2 separate regions of the Homo sapiens genome follow, and region 1 is linked to region 2. Evidence: promoter capture Hi-C in 16 types of primary human blood cells and fetal thymus (Javierre and others, 2016). All regions are on one chromosome and are shown on one strand. Each heading gives the region's core, a stretch centred on a gene start or on the middle of the fragment in contact. The rest is flanking DNA. Distances are from core to core; before and after follow the strand shown.

Evidence for each region. The method cuts DNA at HindIII sites, captures the fragments that hold promoters and counts their contacts. A CHiCAGO score of 5 or more calls a contact.
Region 1: the fragment with the promoter of SPATA41 here is called in contact with the fragment with the promoter of TM2D3 in region 2 in 1 of 17 cell types (neutrophils); the score reaches 6.0 in neutrophils.

Annotation. Positions count from the first base shown.
Region 1 is chr15:100,348,931-100,352,178 of GRCh38, reverse strand. SPATA41 (spermatogenesis associated 41) reads left to right here and starts at 1,461. Exons shown (of 2, transcript NR_028139.1): 1 at 1,461-3,248. LOC105371021 (a long non-coding RNA gene) reads right to left here and starts at 2,573. Exons shown (of 3, transcript XR_007064777.1): 1 at 2,497-2,573; 2 at 1,234-1,804; 3 at 35-500. RefSeq lists an enhancer at 2,034-2,293. The HindIII fragment of the contact is 2,620 bases long and covers 1,141-3,248 here.
Region 2 is chr15:101,650,948-101,654,208 of GRCh38, reverse strand. TM2D3 (TM2 domain containing 3) reads left to right here and starts at 1,828. Exons shown (of 6, transcript NM_078474.3): 1 at 1,828-1,938; 2 at 2,436-2,513. The coding sequence starts at 1,848. TARS3 (threonyl-tRNA synthetase 3) reads left to right here. Exons shown (of 19, transcript NM_152334.3): 19 at 1-613. RefSeq lists enhancers at 534-1,424, 1,531-1,590 and silencers at 1,251-1,440, 1,681-2,240. The HindIII fragment of the contact is 10,431 bases long and covers 1-2,293 here.

The DNA of each region.
Region 1 (3,248 bases), core at 212-2,711, 1.3 Mb after region 2:
TTAGCTATTGCTGCATAACAAATTAGTCCAAAACTTAGTGACTCAAAACACTAATAATAATTTATTTTCTCTTGTTTTTTTAACGGTCTGGAATTCAGCCAGGGTGGACACAGTGGGAAGGGCTTGTCTCTACTCATGGTGTTTGGGGCAGACTCAAAGGCTGGGGGCTGAAATCATCGGAAGGCCTGACTGAGGGTAGAGGATCTGCTTCCAAAATGACTCACTCACATGACAAATTAGTTGGTTCTGGCAAGTTGGCCTCCTTTCCAAGAAGTGCCTCTCCACACATGTGCTTCTCTGCAGGGTTGCTTGAGTGTCCTCATGACATGGCTGGTGGTTCCCAAAAAAGCAAGTGATCCAAGAGCAACATTCAGGAATAAGTTCAATCCTTTCTATGACCTAGCCTCAGAACTCACAAAGCATCACTCTCAATACGCCCTATTCATCAGAAGCCAGGCAGTAATTCCAGCACACTTTCTAGGCAGAGGAATTAGGTACACCTGTTGAAGGGAAGCAGGTCATAATTAGAGGATATATTTTTGAACCACCACAGAATCTAACTTAGGTTCGTACAAATATATAAACAGCTGTCCAATACCACATATTGAATAGTCTATCATTACTATATCAGTCTGAGCCATGACTATTTGCATTTACTAAGAATGTGTGTTATTACCATTGAAGACCTTCCAGTGGGACAAGATGTGAAAGCAGAAGACAGTGGTATTGATGATCCTGACCCTGTATAGGCCTAGGCTAATGTGTGTTTGTGTCTTAATATTTGACAAAAAGTTTAAAATGTAAAAAATAAACAACTTCAAAAGTAGGAAAAAAGCTTATAGAATAAGGATATGAAGAATGAAAATATTTTTGTATAGCTGTACAATGTGTTTGTGTATTCAAGCTGTTATTAAAAGAGTCAAAAAATTTAAAAATTCTTAAGGTAGAAAAGTTACAGTAAGCTAAAGTGAATATATTATTGAAGGAAAGAAAATTTTTAAAAATAAATTGAGTGTGGGCCTAGTGTACAGGGTTTTAAAGTCTACAGTAGTGTACAGTAATGTCCTAGGCCTTCGTATTTACTCACCACTCACTTACTGACTCACCCAGAGCAACTTTCAGTCCCGTAAGCTCCAAGCTTACGGTAGGTGCCCTAGGCAGGTGCACCAGTTTCAATCTTTCATACCATATTTTTACTGTATCTTTTCTATGTTTAGATACACAAATACTTACCATTGTGTTACAGTTGCCTACAGTGTTCAGTACCACACTGTACAGGTTTGTAGTCTAGAAGCACAGCCTACAGCCTGGGTGTGTAGTAGGCTGTGCTGTTTAGGTTTGGGTAAGTACACTCTATATTGTTTGCACAATGATGCAATTGCCTGACGATGCATTTCTCAGAACGTCTGCTCACTGTTACGCAACGGAGGACTGTGAATTGGGAGTTTATTTTGTTTTTCAGTCTGTACTGGCAGCGAATCATACATAGCTTAGTTTATCAGACAAGCTGCTTTTCTTGAGCAAAGAAAGAACTAGGAGAGAAACGGGGCTTTGGAACCCTGATGCGGCAATGCTGAAAGAGGAGAAATATCCCAAGGAAGGGAAAGGTGTGTTGCAGAACGATGAAAAATAGGCGGCTTCTCACAGCTGTTCTCAGGGGACGAGACGGGGTGGGATGCAGCTCCGCCGGTGCCTAACACTAAGGGCCCTCATCCTGCCGATTCAGTTGTGTCGGGACCGCCAGTGCTGTCTCCTCGTCAGATGCTGCTTCTGGTCTCCCCGCAGAAGATGCCACTGGAGTTGCCTTTTCAAGGATGGGGACATTTGAAGGCCCTGGACGCTCAGCTCTGAGGCTGGCTGGGATCTCACTAGCACCCCCTGGTGGAGGCCGGAGCCAGGCTGACGCGGGAAAGTGGGGCACGGAAGCGCTGCGGATTGGACCGGCGGCAGCTAGGCCGAAACGCCTGTATTTAAAGGGATAGTAACTCGGACTCGTTCTGCAATATCCCCACAAGGGCCTGACTGAGCGAGCGAGCATGGACGGCCGCGGGGCTTTCTGGACAGTGGCCATTCCCAGAGCCAGGCAGGAAGGCCTCGGGAGGCTGGGGCTCCCGTTCCCGGTGAAGCGGACGCCGCCAGCGCCCCAGAACCCAGGAGGAAGCACACAGGCCCCACAGAGAGTGGTTGGCAAGAGTCACTCGGGGATTAGGATGCCGGCCAAATCGCGGAATTTGAGGCTGGAATCCAAGCTCAACAGGAAAGTAGTGAAATACAAATGGGGAAAACAGGGCTCTGGAGCGGGGAGGGAGCTGGTGCCGGCATTTCCCACCAACGCCGGTTTAGGAAGACGGGACCGATGCCGGCCGCCCCCTGCTGGAGGGGATGTGGCATCTCACGGGCTGCCAGGGAGCGGGGTTGGCTACTCCTGCAACCAGCGTGAAGAGGGTCTCAGGGGAGGCTGTGGTGGGATCCCCCACGTGCCCTTGTTCCTCTCACCGTTACCTCTGGATGCCTCGGGGCAAAGGCCTTCTTCCACCTATAGACAGAGTCTACGCAGGGGTCTTGGAACCCGGGCACACCAGTCCCCAGCTAACGAAATCCCCGAGTTGGGGGATTTGAGAGGGTCACGTTTGGCCCAAGAACCCGCAGTCCTCTTTGGTCTTCGGCCCTCTATTTCTAAGCGTGGGCTTCTGGCACGGCGGCTCTGGGCACAGCCCATGCTGCTTTCGGGCTGGGTGGTTTCAACGACGACAACAATTATCACAGTGACGGTGACCTTCACCCCAACAGGACTGCTGTGTGTGAAGCACTCAAGAGGGCCCCTACAACCAACCTGCCAGGAGTCGGCTCCTGAAAACAGGGTCGGAAAAGGTCAGTGCCCATCAGAATCGAGCTGTCGGCAAAAAGCTGGAGAGGTTAGGAGCTTTGTCTATCTCAAGGGTAACAAACTGCTTTGACCCTGAGGGCTCTGAAGACGACTTTCCCTCACCGCAGCTCTCAAGACAACAGGGATCAGACTCAGAAAGACACTGCCTGTATAAGGCTCTTGTTTGTCTTGTTTTTAATTCCTGCCCTCTGCCTCCAGATCTCAGTCCTCTATCTGTGAAACGGAATTCGGCCTTGCCTGTCCACGAAATGAAGACAAGGCATCTCGTGTGTGTTAAGATGAAACAAGATCTTAGCAAGAGAGTAATGATTTCTTTTTTAAAACATTTTTTACTGTAGTAAAATGTACTATAACGTAAAAT
Region 2 (3,261 bases), core at 579-3,078:
ATTTTCTAATATGTCTCAGGTATTTTTATGACTTCTACTAAAATTCACACTGAAACTTTATCTTCTAAACTGGAATCATTACTTAATTTTAACTAACCAACAACCACAAAAGCAGCAGCTACTGCTAAATATTGGATTACTGACAAAGGAATTCAGTTTTGTGGAATCTGGTGTTTGCACTATAGGTTAAGAGTTGCCATTTAAATGTTTCTTATTCATAATTAGGTTTTGTTCCGCTTTAGAAAAAAATAAATTCCCAAATGAATTGCATCAGTGTTTCCAGCGTTTCAGCTGTGGGCTTCTACCACCACTAAGCCGCTCACCTAGAGTTGTTACTTTTTTGATGGGATGACATTCCATGGATTTATGTACTGAAATGGATTTCAGATTTTAAAGAGAGGAATGCTCTACGTGCTCAGAACTGAATTAAAATGGCATTATGTCAATAGAGAATTCAGCTACCAAACAAGAAGTATTGTTTATTTTGCGATATGCTGTGAAATTCAAAAGAAATGTAAGAAATAATCTCTTTTCAATATACTGATCATTTAGTTAACTTCCTGAGGGATGTGAACAGTGAAACAGTTGGCAAACAAAACAATATATATCAGGCTTGTGTAGTAGTATAAGGTGCAGATTGTGTGATATGATTTTTATTATTTATTTTTTGAGACGGAGTCTCGCTCTGTCACCCAGGCTGGAGTGCAGTGGCGCGATCTCGGCTCACTACAACCTCCGCTTCCCGGGTTTAGGCGATTCTCCTGCCTCAGCTTCCCCAGTAGCTGGGACCACAGGCGCGTGCCTCCACGCCTGGCTAATTTTTTTGTATTTTTAGTAGAGACAGGGTTTCACCGTGTTGTTAGCCAGGATGGTTTCGATTTCCTAACCTCGTGATCCGCCCGCCTGGGCCTCCCAAAGTGCTGGGATTACAGACGTGATTCACCGCCCCCGGCCGTGATACGATTTTTAAAGCTAACATTCAGGGCTTATGTGCCGGCACTTTTCCATGTATTTTTTAAAAAGTCATTCAGCAAACATGCACGTGAGGGGGTGGTAGTCAGAAGACCGCGGAATGAACGATCCCGAAGCACGTGGGTGGGAGGAGAGCACCTGTCACCAGCGCTTTCTCCCAGGTGTGCTGTGACAGAAACCGGCAAGGGTCTCCGCAAGCTGGGGCCTGAGCGCGGCTCCCCAGACGGCCGCGACCTTCCCCAGGCAGGGCTGGGCTCTGGACCCTCCCCTCACTTCCCAGCGCCTCGGGCCATCCTGCTTCTCCAGGCCTGAGAGGAACTTTCTGGAAGTGCTGCGTATCTTCAAGAGGCCGGCCAGAAGTGAAAGCCGCGGCAGGCCTGAGCGCCGGCCCCAGGGGAGGGGTCCCTCGGGCCCTCGTCGTCCCGGGGCCGCTTCCCCGACTGTAAATAAGTGTCTTTAGGATGAAACGCCACGCGATAGTGTCCTCGGAACCTTCGCACGAGATCCAGCACACAACATCCGACCACACACTGGGGCGGCCAGCCTCCCGCGTTCGCCCGCCTCTGCTCTTGGTTGCTTCGGGCGCGCATTTCGGTCCACGGATGACCTTTAACAGGTCTCCTGCAGTGGAACCAGGGGTGAGGGCCTCGTCCAAGGGCGTGAGGGGCGCGTGGAAATGGAACAACCTCCCAGGCTCGCATCCTCCTCGGGGACCTCCCAGAAGGCTCAACCGGAAGAAAACCCGCGACCCGCGCGAGGACAGCGAAAGCGCAAACGCCGGCCGCCAGGAGTCGCAGCGCGCCTGCGTCCAGTTCACGCTCCGGCTCCCAGGCGCGCCCCGCCCCCCGGCCCGGAAGTGCGCAGGCGCTGGCAAGATGGCGGGAGGGGTGCTCCCGCTGAGGGGCCTCCGCGCCTTGTGTCGCGTGCTGCTCTTCCTCTCGCAGTTCTGCATTCTGTCGGGCGGTGGTGAGTCAAAGGCTGGGTTCAGCGCCGGGTGGGGCTGAGTGGCAGCAGGGCCCCGGGAGCTGCGAGGAGGCCGGGCCCACGGGCGGACGCTGACGCGGGGAGGAGGCCGAGTGCCGGGCTCCGGGCCGCTTGTCGCTGCATCTGGAGTCTGGCGCCCTGGCCGCCCGGCCCGAGGCCGCCCCTCCGCTCCGGCGACACCGAGCCCGCCATCGCGGCTGCGGAGCCCTGGCACGGAGATGGAGCGCTTGGGGGCTGGGCCGGGGAGGCGGAACTGGAGCGCGATGTCATCCTTCGGTCCCTCGTTGCCGGCTGACCTGAACTGATGTCTACTCTGTTGACGTTTCGTCCCTAAGCTTTGTGTTTTCTGGCTGACCAGCCGTGAGGTTTTCATGAGCAGCTTATTGGCCTGGTGTAGACCCGCCGTGTTAACCACACAAAATAAGGTTTTCTTGTCCCGGGATAACGTGTTTCTCTAATTGTACGATCCTTAAATTTAGAGCAATCGCAGGCGCTGGCTCAGTCAATAAAGGATCCGGGCCCAACACGCACATTCACAGTAGTTCCCAGGGCAGCAGGTACTAGACGTTTTCTATTCTAGTAAATACATGTAGTTATCTCTAGTAGTTTCTCTTTGTTTTTATAAAAATTCCCTTTAGTATACGAAGTCACTTTCCATTTTTGAATATTTATTGTATTTTAGATTATGTGAATTAAGGGTAGATACACAGCCATTTTCAGTAGATAGTCTTCGTATTTATACCTTTTGACGTTTCTGCCTCCTCTCTTTTTCCAATCCCACGCTCATTTGTCACCTTATTTCTATTATTTTTCCACTTCATCCATCAAAATAACCTTCAGTCCGTGCTTCTTTCCCTTCAGCAAATTTCCTCTACTGCTAAAACCCTGTTCCTGATGTTGGAATATTAAAGGCTCCCTCAGGACTGTGGAAATGGAAGGATTACAGCGGGACTGATGGAGACTTGAAATCTAGATCTGGTTTTGCTACTGGGATCTTGAACAAATTATTTATCCTCTTTGGACCTTGGTCCTCATCTTTAAAGCGGTGGGGTTGGTCTGACGACCTAAAGTCATTTCTGCTTTGTGATTCTAAGTGTCCACCTTCCAGCCACATAGTCACGGGATCAAAAAGAGTATTTTGTAGAATTGTTCCTTAATACAGTGAGTAAAGTAGGACCAGTTTTAAACAAGCATTAGTGTGTTTTGCTAGGTGGAGGCTCTGACTATAATTTCATCACTTTAAAGTGACATTACTTCAGTGAATTGAAACTGGCAGAGATATTTTACTGATTCTTATTTGGATGT